2 separate regions of the Homo sapiens genome follow, and region 1 is linked to region 2. Evidence: promoter capture Hi-C in human tissues and cell types (Jung and others, 2019). All regions are on one chromosome and are shown on one strand. The core of a region is centred on a gene start or on the middle of the fragment in contact, and the rest is flanking DNA. Distances in the headings are between cores, read along the strand shown.

Region 1 (3,644 bases), core at 374-2,873, 680 kb before region 2:
TATGACTTAGAAGGGACCATGAAGGAAAACTAAGGCAACCTGTATAAAGCACAACAGAATATTAAGTGTGCATGTCACTTGGCTGGGACACCAGAGTATCACAGGCAAAGGGGTAGAGTTGTGGTGGATGCTGAAAATGGCTGGGTAGAGACCCTCAAGGGAGACTAGAGATAACTGTGGCTAGAAGACAAAAAGACCTGTGGGTAGGAGGTAGTGAAAGTGATTAAATCCTCCTCCTGAAGCATATTAGGGAGCAGTTGAGTCATGGGTATCAGAATGAGCCCAAGCAAAATGGTTCCTGTAATATTAAGCCATTACAGGCAAGCAAGGTCAAGGACGCTCACAAGAGGAGAAATACAGAGATGTGACAGAGAGATTTCCAGCTTCACATAGTAACGCCCGAATTGATGTTTTATCCTAATTAAAGCTTAATATAACTCTGTGGTAAGAGTTTCTTGCCCCATATATTCTGAGATATACTTCTGAACAAAGGAAATGTGCCGACTGAGAAATATTCCATGAAACTAATTGCTTGATAAATGTGTGCAAAAACACATAACACAGAGATATTAAACAGGAAAGCTGGGAGAAGTTCTGTGCTAAAGTCAATAGAATAAAATCAAACCAAAATGGTAGAGTGTGGGATAATGCAAAGAATGTCAATTATACAATTCCATTGTATAATACCACCATATAACTAGGTTCTATAAGTCCACACACACACCTAGGGAGGTAGTCTTATTTACCTCTTTCAACTTTTATGTTCTGACTAATACGTATTAGAGTCAATATTGGTATGTTGATTCCATATGACTTGTTGATTAGGGATCAGATGAGAAGATTATTCTAATACTGAAATACTCCTTTTTCACCTATGACTTAATCACCTAACTAAAGTTTACTGTGTTCTTTGGGAATCCAAAGTGGGTGGTGGGAAAATGGAATTGTCCCTGGCATCTTTCCCAAACTACACATACCCACCCATCCATAGATGCTGATGGGCCCTTAAGGGAAACCTCCCACCTTCCCACCCCTCCAGAGGCACAGTGCTGCTGACAGACACAAATTATCAGGTGCACTGAGTGAGGAAAAAATGTTAGAACCATCAGCAAAATAGGAAAAACCACTGGACTACAGTCTGATGGAACTGGAATTGAATTTGGGTTCTCACCCATACTAGCTCTTTGTTTCAGACAGTTACTTAACCTCTCTGCTCCATTTCCTCATCTTCAAGGAAAGGGGGGACAATAAGAGCTAATTCCCAAGTTTAAACATTAAATAAGATGATTTATGTGATAAAGATATTAAATGTTTGTAAAATTTGAATAATATTGTGCCATTCATAACTATCTATGTTATTTTAGCAAACAAATATGTCAGATTCCACCCACTGTTTTTATTTTATTTCCCCTTATTTTCATTTATATCACCTTCCACTGGTTTGTACTAAAAGGATTTCCTGGACTGTATGTTTTTAATGTTTGTAGAAAGAAAGCTCTCAAAGGAAAGACTCTTTCCTCTATATCCAATGGAATCATTGGCACAAAATTTAGGAAGTTAAGAAGAAATAACATTCTTACAGTTATTTGATTCAACATGGAAATTTCTTTTAGGATGAACTTTTTGCTGATGTCATTGGCTCGGAGTAAAACTGCCAAATATAAAGATATGATTCCAGCATTAATAGAGCAAAACTGTGAAACTGTACCAACCAACCTGAATTGTATTCTCATTAGTGCTGTCAATTAATGAAGTTAGACAAACGATTTTCCCACATTACAATGTAGTCTACTCAAAAGCCTAAGGAATGCCACCTGCCCATCAAAAATGAATAAATGTGACGTAATTCCATTGTATAATACCACCATATAACTAGGTTCTGTAAGTCCACATACACACCTAGGGAGGTAGTCTTATTTACCTCTTTCAACTTTATATTCTGACTAATATGTATTAGAGTCAATATTGGTATGTTGATTCCATATGGCTTGTTGATTGGGGAATCAGATGAGAAGATTATTCTAATACTGAAATACTCCTTTTTCACCTAATGGTTTAATCACCTAATTAAAGTTTACTGTGTTCTTTGGGAATCCAAAGTGACCATTGGTGAACCTGACAAAAAAAATTCATCTTCTTAGAATTTTGTGATGTAATTAATATTTATTTTGGAACCCTCAGCACCCCAGAGAAGAGTTAGGTATAGAAAGAAACTCTAAAAAGCATATAAGTGCCCCAGAAGATTTTCCCCTTCCTCCCTGTCACATACCTCTTTGCCTCAACCCACTTAAATTCTGAGAAAAAAATCAATACAGTTAAATGAATGTAAGTATGGGTTTATCATTGTCTCTTTAAGTAGAATTATGTCCACGTTTTACAAGTTCCATTTCTTTAGGTGTCAAAAACTAGTTTTATTTAGCTGAGGTTGAGAATATTGGGCAGAGTCAAGGTGAGCATCTAGTGAAAAGCTTTGGAAACACTCCAGGTATAAAGCTGAAGACATTAATCACCAGAATAACAAATGAAATTGAACTGTTCTAGAATTGGGCTCCTTCACCTCATTTTCCACTTCTTCTTCCAGTGTGGTCATCAGGATTCAATCCTGGTCCTATGCTGTCCATAAGATAATACCAAAGGGAGCAGACACTCAACATTTACTTCTTTTTATCTCGACTCTAATCAAGAAAATATGACAATATTTCTGATATCTCTTCTCAAAAAACTTTTTTTTTACTCTAAGTTCTGGGATACATGTGCAGAATGTGCAGGTTTGTTACATAGGTATACATGTGCCATGGTGGTTTGCTGCACCTGTCAACGCATCATCTAGGTTTTAAGCCCCGTATGCATTAGGTATTTGTTCTAATGCTCTCCGTTCCCTTGCCCACTACTGCCTGACAGCCCCAGTGTGTGATGTTCCCCTCTCAGTGTCCATGTGTTCTCGTTTTTCAACTCTCACTTATGAGTGAGAAGATGCAGTGTTTGGTTTTCTGTTCCTGCGCTAGTTTGCTGAGAATACCTGAAAGCTTTGAAAAATCAGATTATCATTAAGAAATAATTCTTAAACTCAAAAATTTTGCCCAAAGAACTTCCTTCTCTGGAGACCTGAAAGAACAAATTAAATACTCATCATAAATATCCAAGTGCAAAACTACCAGTTTTGCATTTATAAAACTACCAGTTTGCACATGAGGAAACTAAGATTCAGGAAGTGTAAATGATTTACCCCGGCATGAAGCTAGTTAATAGAAGAGCAGGTTGCTCCTTACTCTTACTATCTTACTTTTTTGTTAATCATTTATACACAAATCCTGAGTACCTACCATATCCATGGCACTAAGGGCTGTGAAGGGAACAAATCCAAAACATTCATGGTTCCTCCTCCCAATATTATTATTAGATACTTTAAACATTACAATAATGATAACCACTATACATCAAATACTCATTACGGGGGAGAAACTGGGTCAATATCATGGTCGCAGACATTATTCTCTTGATATGAGTGTTAGTTTCTTCAGTTTACAGATGAAGAAAAGGAAACTGGTATGCAAAATGTCATATAATTGTCTCAAATCACACAGTTCATCAGAAGCAGAGGTCAAATTTGAACTTACATTTGCCTGATTCCAAGACCTTTGCTC
Region 2 (3,872 bases), core at 1-2,500:
CTCAAGAAAAGATTCATTCTAGAAATCACCTACTTGCTGTATAAACAATGCAGGTGGTAGTTAACACTTTACAGATTTGAAAGGCAGTGGAACCCCAGGTCATTATTTGAAATTCTACCAGGAGGGATCCATTCTTGGGTGTAAAACATCACTCCTCTTCGATGTTTTCTTTTATATGGCAGTTTGGAGAGCAAAGATTAATAAGCCGAAAAATAATTATTGAATATCTACCAAAATGCAAGCACCTGCTAGGAACTGTGCTGCCACCATTTCAAATAAACATGGTCTCTGCTCCCAAGGAGCTCACAATCTGATGAAATTACTAGGGACACCAAAAACAAGCCAGCATAATACACGATTTGAGGGCTACAGTGTATGATTAAGATCAAGTTCTTATCACACTGCTATGAATAAATTTATCATAGTTCTTCTATTGGCAGGAAAACAAGACAGAACATGACAGAAATAGGATATAAGAAAATAAACATAAAGAGAGGAAAGCCTATTTCCCCCACTTAGAATCACAGTCCAACAGTCCACAATTTCGCAAAGTGGATCCTGCCAGCATGGTATCCGGGATAACTATATTATTCATTAAAATCCGTTAACAATGAAGGTTAATGCAGCAGGAATGAGTGGTAGACAGTGGAATAGATCCTCTCAGGAATTAACACCCGGAAGGGTGACTTTCATGATTACAAACCTCTTTGGCGGGACGCAGGAACCCAGCGCCCGCTAGCCCACTAGTCCGTCACTCTGCCTCCAGGAGGGAGGGGCACAGTAGCTAGGAAACCGGACCCTCAGGCCAAGCTTCGCGATGACGCGCGCAGGACGACGGAAACCCCCAGACCCCAAAAGAGCTCTGCACCGAGAAAACAATTACAAGGGTCTGGAAAGGCCAGAAACCCGAGAAATCACCAACCGAGCTCCCTACATCAGTTCCAAGCACCTCCCCAAGGCGGAAATAACGGGCACCGCGCCCACTGCAGCTCAGCTGAGGAGGGTTAGAGGCGCAAAGGGCTGAGGGGCGTTCTCCGGCCCACCCAAAGAGCGCCCGCGGGAATTTTTCTCTTAGTCCGCGAGGAGGCACGGCTTCCCCCGCCCCTCTCATAAACCATTAGCACCGGGAGCGCGAGCGAGTCCCAGCCGGGAGACAGCCCCGCACCGCCCTCGCGCTCTCACCTTTCAAAGCGCCTCCACCTCTGCCTCCGCCTCCGCCCCTGCCCCGGCAACCAGCTCAGGACAAGCGATGCTCCTCCCCCCCTTCCGGGGACCAAGGGAAGTCCCGCCTCTGGGTGGGGCGAGGGGTGGGGCCAGGCGGCGGGAGGGATCATCTTCCGGGAGCGTGGCTAGGGGCGGAGCGACTGCCGCGCGATAGTCAGGGAGCTGTGCGGGTCCTGGTTGCAAGAGAGGTGGGGAGAGGGGCCTGGCGGGTTTTGAGGGACTGGGAGGACTGTCCCGGCTAAAGCTGGCGCGGGAAACTGGGGCTGCGCGGCGGGAGGGCCCTGCTGCTGGGGAAGGAATCTAATATATCCGTTCCCCTGAGGAAGGGTGCCAGTCCTTGACTCCTAGGCTCTTCGGCTCTCTGTCGTAACTTTGGGGTGTGGCAGGGGTTAGTGACGCGCGGTTACCCGGGATCTGGACGTGCAGGAGGTTCGTGGCCACAATGGGGGTATAGTCTTTCTCACGGCTGCTGGGGTAATAAAACACATGCTTTTAATCCGGATTATCCGCGGTGACATGGGGCCTCCGCTACTGCCCGTATAAGTTAAAGAAAGGCCTGTTCTCTCAAACTTCCTCCTCTTTCACCTTCTTCTGCAGTCTATTTGCCAGCCAACCCCAGCCCGGGAGGGGATCAGGGCCACCAGGTTGCTGGTAAGGATGAAAGACTGAGTGTGTTAAGACTGTTGAAGTGAGCCTGTGTAAGAGAAGGAAGGATTTTGTGGATTGCTACATTGTGAGTGTGGGGTGAGTCCCAGAACCTCGCTATGTCAGGGAAACGGAAGCGTGTGGTGTTGACTATTAAAGATAAGCTTGATATAATAAAGAAACTTGAAGACGGAGGTTCTTCCAAACAACTGGCAGTGATTTATGGAATTGGTGAAACAACAGTTCGGGATATAAGAAAAAATAAGGAAAAGATTATAACTTATGCAAGCAGTTCTGATTCCACAAGTCTTTTGGCCAAGAGGAAATCTATGAAGCCATCCATGTATGAGGAATTGGACAGGGCAATGCTGGAATGGTTCAACCAGCAAAGAGCAAAAGGGAATCCCATATCTGGACCAATTTGTGCAAAAAGGGCAGAGTTCTTCTTTTATGCTTTGGGAATGGATGGTGATTTTAACCCCTCTGCCGGTTGGCTAACTCGTTTTAAGCAGCGGCACAGCATTAGAGAGATTAACATTAGAAATGAAAGATTAAATGGAGATGAGACTGCGGTGGAAGATTTTTGTAATAACTTTCGAGATTTTATTGAACGAGAGAATTTACAGCCTGAACAAATCTACAATGCAGATGAAACTGGACTCTTTTGGAAGTGCTTGCCTTCTAGGATTTCAGTAATCAAAGGTAAATGCACTGTCCCTGGGCACAAATCAATTGAAGAAAGAGTCACAATCATGTGTTGTGCCAATGCAACAGGTTTACACAAACTTAAACTTTGTGTTGTGGGGAAAGCAAAGAAACCTCGCTCCTTTAAATCAACTGACACCTTAAACCTGCCAGTCTCTTATTTCAGCCAAAAAGGTGCATGGATGGATCTTTCCATTTTCCGACAATGGTTTGATAAAATTTTTGTGCCGCAAGTTCGAGAGTATTTAAGATCTAAAGGCTTGCAGGAAAAGGCTGTGCTCTTGTTGGATAATTCACCAACACATCCAAATGAAAATGTCCTAAGGTCAGATGATGGCCAAATATTTGCTAAATATTTACCACCTAATGTGGCCTCATTGATTCAGCCTTCAGATCAGGGAGTCATAGCAACGATGAAGAGAAATTATCGTGCAGGTCTTCTCCAGAACAACTTGGAAGAAGGTAATGACCTGAAATCATTCTGGAAGAAGCTAACTCTGTTGGATGCACTTTATGAAATAGCAATGGCATGGAACTTAGTAAAACCAGTTACCATTAGCAGAGCATGGAAGAAGATTCTCCCTATGGTAGAGGAGAAAGAGAGCCTGGACTTTGATGTTGAAGATATTTCTGTGGCTACTGTGGCTGCCATTTTACAACACACCAAAGGATTGGAAAATGTGACTACTGAGAACCTTGAAAAATGGCTTGAAGTAGACAGTACTGAACCAGGCTATGAAGTGTTAACTGATAGCGAAATCATCAGAAGAGCACAAGGCCAGGCAGATGAATCCAGTGAAAATGAGGAGGAGGAAATAGAACTAATTCCAGAGAAACATATTAATCATGCAGCTGCCCTCCAGTGGACTGAAAATTTATTGGATTATCTAGAACAACAAGGTGATATGATTCTACCTGATAGACTGGTAATACGTAAACTTCGAGCCACCATCAGAAATAAACAGAAGATGACAAAGTCAAGTCAATAATGTCATTTCAATTTTATTGTTCTGCTCATTGTGTTTGTGACAAACTCTTTGCAATATGGCTTAATTTTCTTTGTGTTCTGAATTCTCAGACTTGGTCCTGTGAAATACAGGCACAAAATGTATCTGAAGTGGTTTGAGGATTATGTGTTTTCATCATCTGTGTCTTTTGTCCTTTTATTTGTACAGATAATCAGAAGATGATACTGAATAGATATAAATTACATGTACACATGTATTCACTTTTTAGAATCTGCAATTATACCTTCTGTAACAGTGGCATTCCCTTAATTTTCTAGTGAAAGTTAGAGA

What was found. The method cuts DNA at HindIII sites, captures the fragments that hold promoters and counts their contacts. A contact is called where the count stands out against the background at its distance.
Region 1: a fragment that was not itself captured here is called in contact with the fragment with the promoter of CCDC82 in region 2 in 1 of the 25 tissues and cell types used here (lymphoblastoid cells).

Annotation. Positions count from the first base shown.
Region 1 is chr11:95,711,796-95,715,439 of GRCh38, forward strand. No RefSeq gene overlaps it. Among named protein-coding and RNA genes, the nearest start is that of FAM76B, 76 kb to the right of the region's middle. The HindIII fragment of the contact is 3,685 bases long and covers 1-3,466 here.
Region 2 is chr11:96,388,662-96,392,533 of GRCh38, forward strand. It overlaps CCDC82 (coiled-coil domain containing 82), which reads right to left and starts at 1,251. Exons shown (of 10, transcript NM_024725.4): 1 at 1,183-1,251. It overlaps JRKL (JRK like), which reads left to right and starts at 1,352. Exons shown (of 2, transcript NM_001261833.2): 1 at 1,352-1,412; 2 at 1,822-3,872. The coding sequence starts at 1,989. The coding sequence ends at 3,563. RefSeq lists a silencer at 1,165-1,424. The HindIII fragment of the contact is 6,698 bases long and covers 1-3,872 here.